2 separate regions of the Homo sapiens genome follow, and region 2 is linked to region 1. Evidence: promoter capture Hi-C in 16 types of primary human blood cells and fetal thymus (Javierre and others, 2016). All regions are on one chromosome and are shown on one strand. Each heading gives the region's core, a stretch centred on a gene start or on the middle of the fragment in contact. The rest is flanking DNA. Distances are from core to core; before and after follow the strand shown. Region 1 holds the start of KIRREL1 (kirre like nephrin family adhesion molecule 1). Region 2 has its middle 27 kb from the start of OR6Y1.

Region 1 (6,747 bases), core at 2,207-4,706:
TTAAGGGGCACTTACCACCAGAAACTATAGGATAAAAGAAATTAAGACTTAGTCCTTGTAAGGGTGTAAAGAGGTCCTAGGGGGGCAGAGGTGGGGCTTCCTCCTCCCATCTCACTGGAGCGCCAAAGGCAGAGCCAGAACAACCAACCACTCAGCTGTGGGAAGGAGCAGAGGCGAGAAGGCCTGGATGCCTCCTCCTCCTCCTCCTGACCAGGTGCTCTGGGGCCCAGGGCTGAGGCACTGAGTACTTGGTTCACACCCTCCCTTTGGGTCTAAGTGAGTAGAAGGCAGAAAGTGGAGTTCAGTCAAGGTCAAAGAGAGGAACCCAGTGTCCTGGTTTCTGCCATGTCTCCCCTGACTCTTCCCCAACCTCAGCGCCCTGCTCTGGGCAGAAGTGGGACATCTAAAGTGTGTATATGTGTCTATGTGTAGCACCGAAAGGGGAGAGTCCAGTTACTCTCCAGACCTGCTGTTCTCTGCCAGGATTCAGCTGTACTCAGGGAGTTGAATCCTGGGAATTTAGGAGGCCCTCGGGCCTCCTCCCTTTACCCTTTACTCCCCTCAAAAGCTGTGGCAGGAATGCCAGGGGGAGCTCTGGGGGCTGGGTGGGCTTATTTTTCTCCTGCCCCCACATCCATCCCCCCCACGGAGGCAGCTCCCTCCCCGAGCCGGCCTGTCATCCCACATTGCTCTGATTAGCTATAATCTTTCTTTTTCAATTTCTCCTCCCCGAGACTAGGGAGCGAGAAAATCTCCCAGAAAATGAATAAATATTTCAATTTTCGGCGCAATCAGTCTGTGGAGCCGGCGCATGATGGAAACGGGGGGAAGGATAATGGTTTTCATTTAGATAAGATACAGAAAATTATTTAGTGAAAAATGAAGATTGATGAAGCCCATTGAAATTCTTTAAAATGCGATTTTTATTTCTCAGCCTAGGCTGAATCTCCCCTTCCCCTCTCCTCTCTGCTCCCCTCAATTCTATGGCTTCCTGCTGACACCTACTCCCCCATCCCTATTCCCCCACCATCATTCCTCCTCCCTTTTGTAGCGCCCCCCTCCGTTTCCTCTCTCACTGCCCCAGTCCCTGACCTAGAGCTCCTTTCTGAGGATGGAGGCTAAGGAAAGGGGGTCCTGCCAAGCTCTCCACCCCCATGTGTGTCCCAGTCTCCCCAGACCCCTACTCCTTCCCTCTCTGCCTCCTCCCCAGTCCCTTGCCAAGCTTCCCCCAACACTCACTAGTGATTTCCCCTCCCCTCCTGTCTAGTCTCTCCCTTTCTTTTCTCTGGTATCCTCTCCCCCAACCCCAGACACTTTCACCAGGTCCTGCTTTCACCCCTGTTGGAGCAGAGAAGTGGGAGCTCAGCATTCCCTAGCCACTCGCTCCTTTCCAAAGAGAGAAAGGCACACAACACACAATTCTTTCTGTCCCCAATTCAATCCACATGTCTCTCCTGTTTGCTAACTGCTGCTTTTGTTCCTTAACACTCATTTGTATCCATGATGCTGACATGTAAGGGCTGTAAGAAAGGGACAGACATAAGCTTGCCCCCAACATAGACCAATACTGACCCAGGGGCCTCCTCCACCACCAACATGACCCCCCTCCACCACCACCATGGCCCACCCCCTTCCTCCCCGACACCAACAGCCTGGCTGAACAAAGTCAGAACTTAAGTCATCTTCCCAACTTTCTGCCAAGTGGCTGGCCTGGCCTGCCAACCCCAGGGCCAGGCCTCCTCCTTTCCCCTAGCACCACCTCCCACTCCTGGCTCACACCACAGATGTGTGCCCTTCCCATATCATAGTGTGTGCTGGGGGGCTGGCATGGGTGCCCTGTGGGGAGAAATGAATCAAGACGTGCCCCCACCAACTCAGCCAGGCTTTGCCTTCGGAACTGGGAAGAGACCCGACAAGGAGAGGAAAGGTCCAGCATAACACACCACCTACAAACGCAGGAAGGGAACAGAAAGCAGGGCAATAATGCCTGAGGCTGTTCTACCCAGATCCATTCCCAGACACCCCCTAAAAGAGGACACCTCCTCCATCTGCAGTCTGTACATCTCCATAGGTGTCTGCCCATATGAATGTCTGTTCAAGTTTCTTTGTTTGCTAGAGGGTTGGTTTCTGTGAGAGCGTGTGTCCTGTCCTTGTAAACGCCTGCATACATGTACTGTGTATAGTTGTAACGTTCGGGTGGATGAATGCGTGAGTGTGTGCCGATCTGGGGGAGGAATCTGTCTTCCTCAGATGTCTCCGTGTCTTTGTGTATATGTGTCTGTCTCAGTGTGGGGGATGTTTGTGGGGATGTCTCTCTCTCAGTAGGTGAGTAGTCTGTCTCAGTGTCTGTGAGTGTTTTACGGTGTTTGTGTGTCAATTTCTGTGTGTCAGCTCCATTTTTGGGGAGGGAAGGAGTTCAGCAGGATTCAGTCTTCCTTAGAGTCAGACCTGGGAGGCAAGAACCAACTCCCACAGACCCCAGTCCCTGCTGCAGTCTGGACCCTTGGTTCCCTCAGCCCTCTTCCCTCCCCCAACCCCAGCCCTGCCCAGGATACACTGACATCCTCATCTCTCCCAACCACCTCCCTCACCTCCCAGCCTCTCCCCTGCCAGTGTCAAATAAGCCCCAGACAGCAACACTTTCCTGAGCCCAAGTAGAGTGTCAGCCCCCTCCCCCCACCGCCTCTGCCCCCGCCCCCGTGAGTTCCCCCCCTCTGTATCAAGCGGGCCTGAAGCTGTATGTGGAACTCCACTCTCCACCCAGAGCCTCCGTGGGCAGGGGTTCCAAATCCCCACTAGAGGCGCCGAGACACCCCTCCCTTCCTCTAGAGGGGGCAGCCCCAGGCAGGCTGGAGCCGTGATTCAGACTCAGACCCCCGAGGGGCTGGGCTGGAGTAGGGGGATCCCCTTGGCAACATCTTCGGGAGGTGGGACCCAGCTTTTCGCTCACCCCCTCGCCCGAAATCCGAAATCCCACCCTCTTCCCAGCCTTGCCCTTAGGCTGGACTCAGGCGTCCGGAACCCCGGCCTCAGAGGGCGAGGGTCGGTAGGGCTGCCAGAAGCTCAAGAGAAAGCGTTCGGTTCCCCGTTTTACTCGGACCTCCAGCCCTCGCGGCCCCATTGCTCGGTTCTCCCGCGCAGCCAGAGGAAACAACTTGGGCAAATCAACGGCAAACTCATTCTCCCCAGCCCCTCGTTACTCCGCGCCCCCTCCCCCAGGGCTCTGCGCCCGGACCGAGCCCCCGCCTCGTGGCGTCCGGACCCGGGGACTGGCCGCGGGCCGCGGGGCACTCCAGCACTCTCCCACCGGGGAAGCAGTGCCCCGGCCCCGGGGGGAAGCCGAGCGTCCGGGGGTGGGCTGGGGGCCCTTACCTTGGGAGAAAGTATCGGAGAGAGTGAGGATCCAGACGAGGAGGCTCAGCATGCTGTCCGCCCGCCGTGCGCCCGCCCGCGGCTGGGGCCCGGAGTTGGCGAGCGAGCCAGAGGAGCGGGCTGGGGAGGAGGGGAGCCCGGGAGCCCGGGAGCCCGCCCCCCGCCCGCCCGCGCCCGCCCCTGCACACACACACGCGCGCGCGCACACTCACGCGCACAAACTCATTTCCCTGCCCTCCGATTCTCTTTATCTCTCTTTCCTCCCAGACCTTTTTCTCCTCCTGGTCGCCCTCCCCCTTTAATTATTTCTCCTCTCAAGCTGTATCTCTCTGGGTCTCTTTCGGTCTTTGCTCCCCCTTTCTCTCCCCTTCTCTTCCTTCCCTCTCTCCCTCCCTGCCTCCCTGCCTGCCTGCCTCCCTCCCTCCGCCTGACGTCTACTCTCCCTCCGACGGCGCCTCCCTCCACGAGCCCTCCCCCTGCCCCCCCACAACGCGCGCACACACATACCCCCCTCGCTGGAACTGAGATGGAAGGAGAGCAAAGAGGGAAAGGAATTGAGGGCAAAGGCAAAAGGGGGTGAAAAATGTGACCGTCGTGGGTTCTGGGGCAGGCACGACGGGACCCCTGGCCACCCCACCCCCTCCTATTTATAGACGCAATCTTGGTCGCGGGCTATGGAACTAAGCAGTGGAGGAGGAACATGGGCTGAGGGACATCAGCCTCTAGCTCAGAGGATGTGATGGGGAGTGTGTGTGTGTGTGTGTGTGTGTGTGTGTTTCCGTGTGTGTGTCTAGGAGTGGGGTGGGGGGCAGGGAGTTAAATAAACATAAAGACCTTTCTTTTTAAATTCCACACCCAAAGTCTAGCCCCTAGATTCCCCAAATTAAGAATTCTCAATTGACTAATGAATGCTTGGATAAGGGAGGGGCATACATGCCTCTCCCCACCTATAAAACCCAGAACTGGAGAATGGGAGCTGCCTCTTGGACCTGCCTTGAGGCCCTGCCTTGGCTTCACCCAGTCAAGGTTGAGCACAGCTAGGCGTTGGAGGACTCAGCGGCCTGGAAGAGGCACAGTTGACCCTTCCTTTGTTCATCTTAGCCTTCCACCCATCCCGAAGGAGAAGGTAGCCAACTGGATGGCTTTGAAGGGCCAAGACCTGGCCTCACCTCCCTGAATGCAAGCCAGAGGAGAAGACAGCCACCAGTCAGATCTCTAAGCACGCTGGAGTTTGAGATCTTTTGGGGTAGGGACATGGAGGAACTAGGAAGGAAGGGAATTCCTGAGAATCATGAGAGCATTCAGGAGGGATCTCCACTTTCTTAAGGGCCCAGTTTGGCAACCAGCTCCTCTTCTCACCCCTGACCAGATACTTCTGCTCACAGGATTGCTCGGGTAGCCAGAGGTCTGGACCCTAGGGAATGGACAGAGAAGTTGCTGGAATTGCACAATTTTACAGTAATGTGTTGGTCCAAAGAGGTCTCCACTTCTTTCCTCCCAGATCCCAGATCTCCTGGGTCTCTAACACTCCCCGCCAAGTTTTCTCAATTTCTGCCCCTGAAAGTAGGTGCGTGGCTCTCTGGTGCCCTCTGTTGATGTGTAGCGGCCACAGCTCCTCTTTCCTCCGCAGATACTAACACCAGCCTGTGGTCCAGACGCATCCACACACAATTAGAAGACAGAGAAAGGCAGGAAAACACCCAAGCTCATATGCAGAAGCCCCATATGCACAGACCCAGAGAATTCTTCATATATTCCAAAACACAGGCAAGCACAGCTTAAGAATAGAGCCATACTTTGGCCAGAGAAATAGGACTGCAATCCCAAACGTACACAGAAAGACACCAACACACAGACACATAAGGCTTTTCATTTGTTCATTCATTAATCATACATTCCACAGATATTTTTTCAGCTCCAGACTGCTATTTTCCAGTCACCATTCTAGGCTTTGGGGAGACAATAATAATAAAAAAAAAAGGACAAAGTCTTTCCCTTTAATGTTCCATTCTGGAGGAAAGTCAGAGGCAGTAGAAAAAAATATGAAATATACTAGGTTATGGTAAATGCTATGGGGGACAAATAAAGCAGGATAAAAGATTAGGGAGAGGGAGAGAGGGAGGAATTACTGTTCTTACAGGTAATCAAAGAAAGCTGTTCTGCTACAGCCACATTTGGGCACAGACCTGAAGGAACTGAGGGTTTAGCTGCTCAGGCGTCTGAGGGAAGAATGCAGCAGGAAGATGGTAGCAGCAAAGGCAAAAACCCTGAGGTAGGGAGCTCCGGACATGTCAGCGAGACAGCCTTTTCTCCTTTCCACTCCACATGATGGTGTATGGAGGGGAAGGCGAGGGTGACCCTGACTTAGGAAAGTATTATTTTTGGTGTGTGTGTGTTTTCTTTTCTTTTCTTTTCTTTCTTTTTTTTTTTTGAAGGAGTTGCACTCTGTCACCCAGGCTGGAGTGTAGTGGCATGATCTTGGCTCACTGCAACCTCCATCTCCTGGGTTCAAGCGATTCTCCTGCCTCAGCCTCTTGAGTAGCTGGGATTACAGGCACCCGCCACCATGCCCAGCTAATTTCTGTATTTTTAGTAGAGATGGGGTTTCACCATGTTGGCCAGGCTGGTCTTGAACTGCTGACCTCAAGTGATTTGCCTGCCTCGGCCTCCCAAAGTACTGGGGTTACAGGTGTGAGCCACCACACTCGGCCTAGGAGAGCATTAATTTAAAAAAAAAGGTCTTTAATCGAAGGAAGGGAATATTCTTAGCTCAGTGTTTCCTGCCTAATCTCCATGTCTGATATCAGGCTTGATAGCTATTCTTTTTATGAGAAGGGACTGGGTTATCAGACCTTTTGGATTTTTGTGGGCCTTTTATTTTGCCTCAAAAGCCTAGAAACAGAGGAACCAAGTTTCTCTAGCTCACTAACAGCGAAAACAACAATCTGGCCTGTCTCCTCTGGTCCTTTAGCTTTTCTTTTCCCTCCCCCTTTCCTTTAATTCCAAATCTTCACCAGCTCAGTTCATAGCAAACTCATGTCTCTAGAATTTCTTCCACATAAGTCATCCAGCATCCCAGATCTCAGAGCTTAAGACACCATAGACCTCATCCCCAGCCAGTGGTCCTCAACACCAGTTGTGCATAGCACCTCCTGAGGGCCTTTAATTTTATTATTATTATTTTTTAATTTTTTGAGATGGAGTTTAGATCTGTCACCTGGGCTGGAGTGCCGTGGCATGATCTCAGCTCACTGTAACCTCCGCCTCCCGGGTTCAAGTGATTCTCCTGCCACAGCCTCCCAAGTAGCTGGGATTACAGGTGTGTGCCACCATGCCTGGGTAGTTTTTGTATTTTTAGTAGAGACAGCATTTCGC
Region 2 (6,747 bases), core at 2,474-4,973, 530 kb before region 1:
TCTTTAGGCAGAAGCTATAGAGTTTATATCCTAGATATAGAATCATATCCTCTGCAGGATGTTTGACTTACTCTCTCTTTTTTTTTTTTTTTGGATGCCTTTTATTTCTTTCTCTTGCCTAATTAGTATGACCAGGACTTCCAGTACTGTATTGAATACAAGTGGTGAGAGAGGGTATCTTTGTCTTGTTCTGATTTTCAGGGAGTATGCTTTCAGCTTTTGCCCATTCAGTATGATGTTGGCCATGGGATTGTCATAGATGGCTCTTACTATTTTAAGGTATGTTCGTTTGATGCCTAGCTTGTAGAGGGTTTTTATCATGAAGGGACATGGTATAATTTTGTATGCTTTTTCTGCATCAATTGAGATTGTCATATGGTTTTTGTCTTTAATCCTGCTTATGTGGTAAATAACATTTATTAATTTACATATGTTGAACTAAACTTGCATTCCAGGAATAAAACCTATGTGATCATGGTGAATTAAATTTTTGATATGCTGCTGAATTTGCTTTGCTGGTATTTTCTTGAGGATTATTACATTTGTGTTCATCAGGGATATTGGTCTGCAGTTTTCTTATTTTGTTGTGTATTTGCCAGGCTTTGGTATGAGTATGTTGCTTGCTTAATAGAATGAGTCGGAATAAAGTCCCTCCTCCTCAATTTTTTGGAATATTTTCAGTAGCATTGGTACCAGCTTCTCTTTGTATGTCTATTAGAATTCTGCTGTGATTCTATCTGGTCTAGGGCTTTTGTTGGTGGTGGTGGTGATGGTGGTGGTTGCTGGCTTTTCATGAGCAATTCAATTTCAGAACTTGATATTGGTCTGGTCAGGGTTTCAACTTCCTTGTGATTCAATCTTGGGAGGTGGTGTGCTTCCAGTTGTTTATCCATTCCCTCTAGATTTTCCAGTTTGTGTGCATAGAGGTGTTCATAAAAGTCTCTGAGGATCTTTTGTATTTTTGTGGGATTGATTGTAATGTCATCTTTGCCATTTTTGAGCGTGATTATTTGGATCTTCTCTCTTTGCCAATCAAGCTAGTGGTTTATTGATCTCGTTTATTCTCTCAAGTAATCAGCTTTTGGATTTATTGATCCTTTTAATGGATTTTTGAATATCAATTTTGTTCAGTTCTTCTCTGATTTTGGTTATTTTTTTCTGCTAGCTTTAGGTTAGTTTGTTCTTGTTTTTCTAGTTCCTCTTAGTGTGATGATAAATTGATAATTTGGGATCTTTTTAAATCCTTGTTGTAGGAGTTTAACATCATAAACTTTCCTCTTAACATTGCTTACACTGCACCCCAGCGATTTTGGTATGTTGCATCTCTGTTTTCCTTTATTTTAAAGAATTGTTTTATTTCACCCTTAATTTCGTTGTCCATCCAAAAGTCATTCACAAGCAAGTTTTTTAGTTTCCATGTAATTATGTGTTTTTGAGAGATCCTCCTGGCATTAATTTCAATTTTTATTCCCCTATGGTCCAAGAGTATGGTTGGTATGATTGCTATTTGTTTGAATTTATTGAGACTTGCCTTATGGCCTAGCATGTGGTCACTCTTAAAGTACATTCTGTGTGCAGTTGAGAAAAGCATATATTCTGTGGTTGATGAGTAGTCTGTAGAGGGTTTTTTTTTTGTTATTTTTGTTTGTTTGTTTTTTGTTTTTGAGATGGAGTCTCGTTCTGTCACCCAGGCTGGAGTGCAGTGGTGCAATCTCGGCTTACTGCGAGCTCCGCCTCCCGGGTTCACACCATTCTCCTGCCTCAGCCTCCCGAGTAGCTGCGACTACAGGCGCCCTCCACCACGCTTGGCTAATTTTTTGTCTTTTTAGTAGAGACGGGGTTTCACCATGTTAGCCAGGATGGTCTCGATCTCCTGACCTTGTGATCCGCCCACCTCGGCCTCCCAAAGTGCTGGGATTACAGGCATGAGCCACCGTGCCCAGCCCTGTAGAGGTCTTTTAAGTCCAACTGGCCAAGTGTCAAAGTTATGTCCAGAATTCCCTGATAGTTTTCTGCCTCGATGATCTGTCTAATACTGTCAGTGGTGTCGAGTCCCCCACTTTTGTGTGGCTGTTTAGATATTTTTGTAGTCCTAGGTGTACCTGTTTTATGAATCTGAGTGTTCCAGTGTTAGGTGCATATATATTTAGCGTAGTTAAGTCTTCATGTTTAATGGAATCCTTTATCATTACAGAATATACTTCTTTGTCCTTTTTTACTGTTGTTGGTTTAAAGTCTGTTTTATCTGATGTGAGAATAGTGACCCTTGTTCTTTCTTGTTTGTTTATTTTCTCTCTGTGTGATAAGTCTTTCCCCAACCCTTTACTATGAGACTGTGGGTGCCATGACATGAGTGATGGGTCTCTTGAAGACAGCAGATAGATCGGTTTTGTGTTTTCTCTAACTTGTCCCTCTGTACCTTTTAAGTGGGATATTTAGACCATTTAAATTCAAGGTTTTGATCCTGATGGTCATGAAGTTTCCAGTTGGCTGCTTTATAGTCTTAATTGTGTACAATTACTTTATTAGGTCTGTGGGCTACTTACGTGTGTTTTTATGGTAGCCAGTATCATTCTTTTGTTTCCATGTTTGTAACTCCATTAAGGATCTCTTGTAAGCCTGGTCTACTGGTAAGAAATTCCTTTAGTGATTGGTTGTCACTAAAATTTTATTTCTTCTTCACTTATAAAGCTTAGTTCATCAGGATATGAAACATTGGTTGGAATTTCATTTCTTTAAGAATACTGAAAATAGGTCGCCAATCTCTTTTGGTTTTTAAGGTTTCTGCTGAGAAGTCTGCTGTTAGTCTGATGGGAATCCCTTTGTAAGTTATCTGACCATCTTCTTTAATTGCCTTTAAGATTTTTTTCTTTGGTGTTGACCTTGCTTAGTCTGGTAACTCGGTTCCTTGGTGATATATATTGTGTAAAGTCTTTCTCAGGTGTCTACTACTCTGGCAGGATTGGAAAATTTTTCTTGAATTATTCCCTCAAATATGTTTTTCAAGTTTTTCACTTCTACTGCTTCTCTCTCAGGAATGCCAGTAACCCATAGGTTTGGTCACTTTACATAATCGCATATTTTTCAAGGACTTTGTTGATTTTCTTTTCTTTTATTCTCTCTCTCTTTCTCTGTGTGTGGTCTGCCTGAGCTAGTTTAAAAGGCTGAAATTCTTTTTTTTTTTTCTGCCTGGTTTAATCTATTGATAAAACTTTCAATTGTATCTTGAAATTTCTTAAGTGAGTTTTTAATTCCAGGATCTCTGATTAATTTCTTTTTAACATGTTTATGTCTTCTTTCATTTCTTGGACTGCTTTAGTAGTTTCCTTGTGTTGATTTTCAACATTGCCTCGGACTTCATTGAGCCTTCTTGCAATTCATGCTTTGAATTCTTTGCCTGTCATTTCTGAGCTCCCATTTTGGTTATGAGTCCTTGCTGGAGAGCTAGTGTAATTCTTTGGTGATGTCACAAGATTCAGATTTCTTATGGTGCCAGAATCCTTATACTGGTCCCTTTCATCTGGAGAGGATGGCACTTCTAATTTTTGTAATTATTTTTGTGTGGATAGGATTTTTTTTTCTTTCCTTATATATTTTTTTCCTTTCCCCTTCTCTCTAAGTGGTGCAACTGTAGAGTATGTTGAGTAGGGTCTTTTGGCTTTGTTTCTATACCCCTTTTCACTTCTTTTAGCAGTTTTTATATTAGGCAGTGCAATTTGACCTGTGGAGCAGTAGATGGGGCTTAAGGGTAAGAGCCAGCCGTAACATAAGCAGATGGCTATGTATTTGATCTTTGTTTACTCTCAAGTGTTCTCTGTTATTTCAGATGATGGCCTGGATGGGCATTCCAGGTTCCCTAGCTTCCTGTTCCATGGGGATGAGGAGACACATCTGGGCAAAGCTGTAGTGTTTCAATTTTTGTTTATTTCCATGTACATTTGATTTTCCCTTTGATTTTTTCTCTGACCTGTTGGTATCTTATGAGTGTGTTGTTTAATTTCCACCTATTTGTAATTTTCTAAATTTCTTCCTGTTATTGATTTCTATATTTATATCATTGTAGCCAGAAAAGATACTTGAGATGATTTTAGTCCTCTTCAATTTGATAAGATTTGTTTTGTGACCTAACATGATCTATTCTGGAGAATGTTCCATGTGCACTTGAGAAAATTTTGTATTAAACTTCTGTTGGGCGAAATGTTCTGTATATGTTTATTAGTCCATTTGACCAATGGTGTTACTGAAGTCTCCTGTTTCCACATTGATTCACTCTCTGAATGATCTGTCCATTTTTAAAAGTAGGATAGTGAAGTCTCATTATTATATTGCTGTTTATTTCTCCCTACAGTTCTGTTACTACTTGCTTTATATATGTTTAGGTGTTCCCATGTTGAATGCATCTATCTTTACAGTTCTTATATCCTCAAGATGACATCATCCCTTTATCATTGTACAGTGACTTTCTTTGTCTCTTATGACAGATTTTGATTGAAAGTCTATTTTGTCTGATGGAAGTATAACTTTCCCTGATTTTTTTTGGTTTACATTTGCATGAAATATCTTGCTCTATCCCTTCACTTTTAACATGTGTTCCTAAGGCTAAAAAGAGTCTTTTGTAGGCAGCATATTGTTAGATCTTGGCTTTTTTTTTTTTTTTCACTCTTCTGTATTTGTTACAACTTTAAGCAAAATGTGACTCGGGCACTACATTTCCATCCACAAGACTGGCTCTGAGTTATTTTTTGAAAAGCTTTGTGATAGGCTTAGGTAGGCTTATAACTTTGCTCCTCCAAACAATACTTTTCTTTGGAGAACAAGAACTCTCTGTGGAGATTTCCTTCCATCAAGTTGCTTCAGTTTAACCTATTTCTAGAGGACTAGTTCATACAGAACTGGCAACTACAGGGGATGAAAAGTTCAAAAGTAGATGCTACAAAATGTAACAAATACTTTTCTTCTAAACATCAAGATATAGCTCAGGAACACTTGGATAACAAGATTTGGCCTACTAAGGAATATGGATTGATAGCTAAACACTTTAGACCACAAAGTAAACATCATGTTTCACACATCCTGCAACACACATTACTTCGATCTGTTAAAATAAGCCAATGTGAAACTAAGAAAAAAATTACTAGCTCTGCTTTAGTGCTTAAGGTATCACAGCATCACTTAGAAGTAGAAAGAAATCTTATCTTCCCCTTAAAGTAGTTGTTGTCATGCCATACAGACTTTTTAATGTTAACAAAAAATAAAGAAAAATATCCTTGAAAATATATTTCCCTCAGCTGGAGCTTAGTCTGTTTCTTCCATGCATGATGTGTCGTTGTCTCCTTCAAGGGGTGACATTTCTTCAGCAGTATCATCAGCAGTAGGGTCATTTTCATCAATACCCACACCAAGTTTGATCATCCTGTAGATCCTGTTAGCATGTGTCTGGGGATCTTCCAGACCAAAGCCGGAAGACAAAAGAGCAGTTTTGTAAAGCAAGACGACCAGATCCTGCACAGACTTGTACTTATCTGCCTCTGCCTTTTGCCTTAAGGTCTCAATAATGGAATGGTCAGGGTTTATCTCCAGGTGTTTCTTTGCTGCCATGTAACCCATTGTTGAGTTGTCTCTTAGGACTTGAGCTTTCATGATTCTTTCCATGTTTGCTGTCCAGCCATATATGCTCGTGACAATATAGCATGGAGACTTCACCAATCAGTTTGGCACAACCACCTTTTCAACTTTTTTCTCCAATATGTCTTTCATGATTTTGCAGATGTTCTCAAACTTTGTTTTTTTCTCTTCCTGTTTCTTTTTTTCTTCTTCATCCTCTGGAAGTTCCAAGCCCTCTTTGGTGACTGACACTAAAGTCTTCCCCTCAAATTCCTTCAGTGTTGGACACAGTACTCATCAATTGGCTTGATCATATAGTTCACTTCTAAGCCATGTTTCCGAAGACATTCCACAAATTTAGCTACCTGGTCCTTGGTCTCACCTGTGATGTAATAGATATGTTTCTAGTTTTCCTTCATTCTGGTGCAGTAGTCCTTGAGAGAAACCATCTCATCACCAGAAGCAGATGTGTAGTATCTTAACAGCTCTGAAAACTTCTTCCAATGTTGAGAGTCTTCATATATTTCAAGCTTTACGCTTTTAGAGAACTGCTCATAGAATTTCTTGTAGTTCTCTTTATCTTCTGCCAGTTTGGTAAAGAGTTCTAAGCATTTTTTGACCAAATTTTTCCTGATAACTTCCAAAATTTTGCTTTGTCACAACATCTCATGGGAAATATTTAGACGGAGATCCTCTGAGTCCACCACCTTTCCAATGAAGTTCAGATACGCAGGGATTAGCTCCTCACAGTTATCCGTGATGGAAACTCTGTGTACATACAATTTGATGTTCTTTTTCTCTCTCTTTCCAAACAAGTCAAAAGGAGCATGTTGTGGGACAAATAGAAGGGCTCTGAATTCCAAGTGTCCTTCAACTGAAAAATGCTTCACTGCCAATGATCTTCCCAGTCATTGGTCAAGCTCTTGTAGAATTCTTACTCCTCATTAGTAATATCATCAGGATTTCTGGTCCAGATGGGCTTTGTTTTGTTGAGTTTTTCTTGATCGATGTACTTTTCCTTAATCTTCTTATTCTTTTTGTCACCATCCTTCTTTTCTTCTTCTTCTTCATCAGAACCAACATCTTCAATTTCAGGTTTGTCTTCGGACTCTTTCTCTTCTTTTTCATTTTCTTCTTCTTTAT

The links. Contacts are between HindIII fragments. The CHiCAGO score rates a contact against its expected background, and 5 or more counts as called.
Region 2: a fragment that was not itself captured here is called in contact with the fragment with the promoter of KIRREL1 in region 1 in 1 of 17 cell types (total B cells); the score reaches 5.1 in total B cells.

What each region holds. Positions count from the first base shown.
Region 1 is chr1:157,990,354-157,997,100 of GRCh38, reverse strand. KIRREL1 (kirre like nephrin family adhesion molecule 1) reads right to left here and starts at 3,456. Exons shown (of 15, transcript NM_018240.7): 1 at 3,373-3,456. The coding sequence starts at 3,424. The HindIII fragment of the contact is 5,747 bases long and covers 1,547-6,747 here.
Region 2 is chr1:158,524,387-158,531,133 of GRCh38, reverse strand. It overlaps the pseudogene HSP90AA3P. Among named protein-coding and RNA genes, the nearest start is that of OR6Y1, 27 kb to the left of the region's middle. The HindIII fragment of the contact is 2,059 bases long and covers 2,694-4,752 here.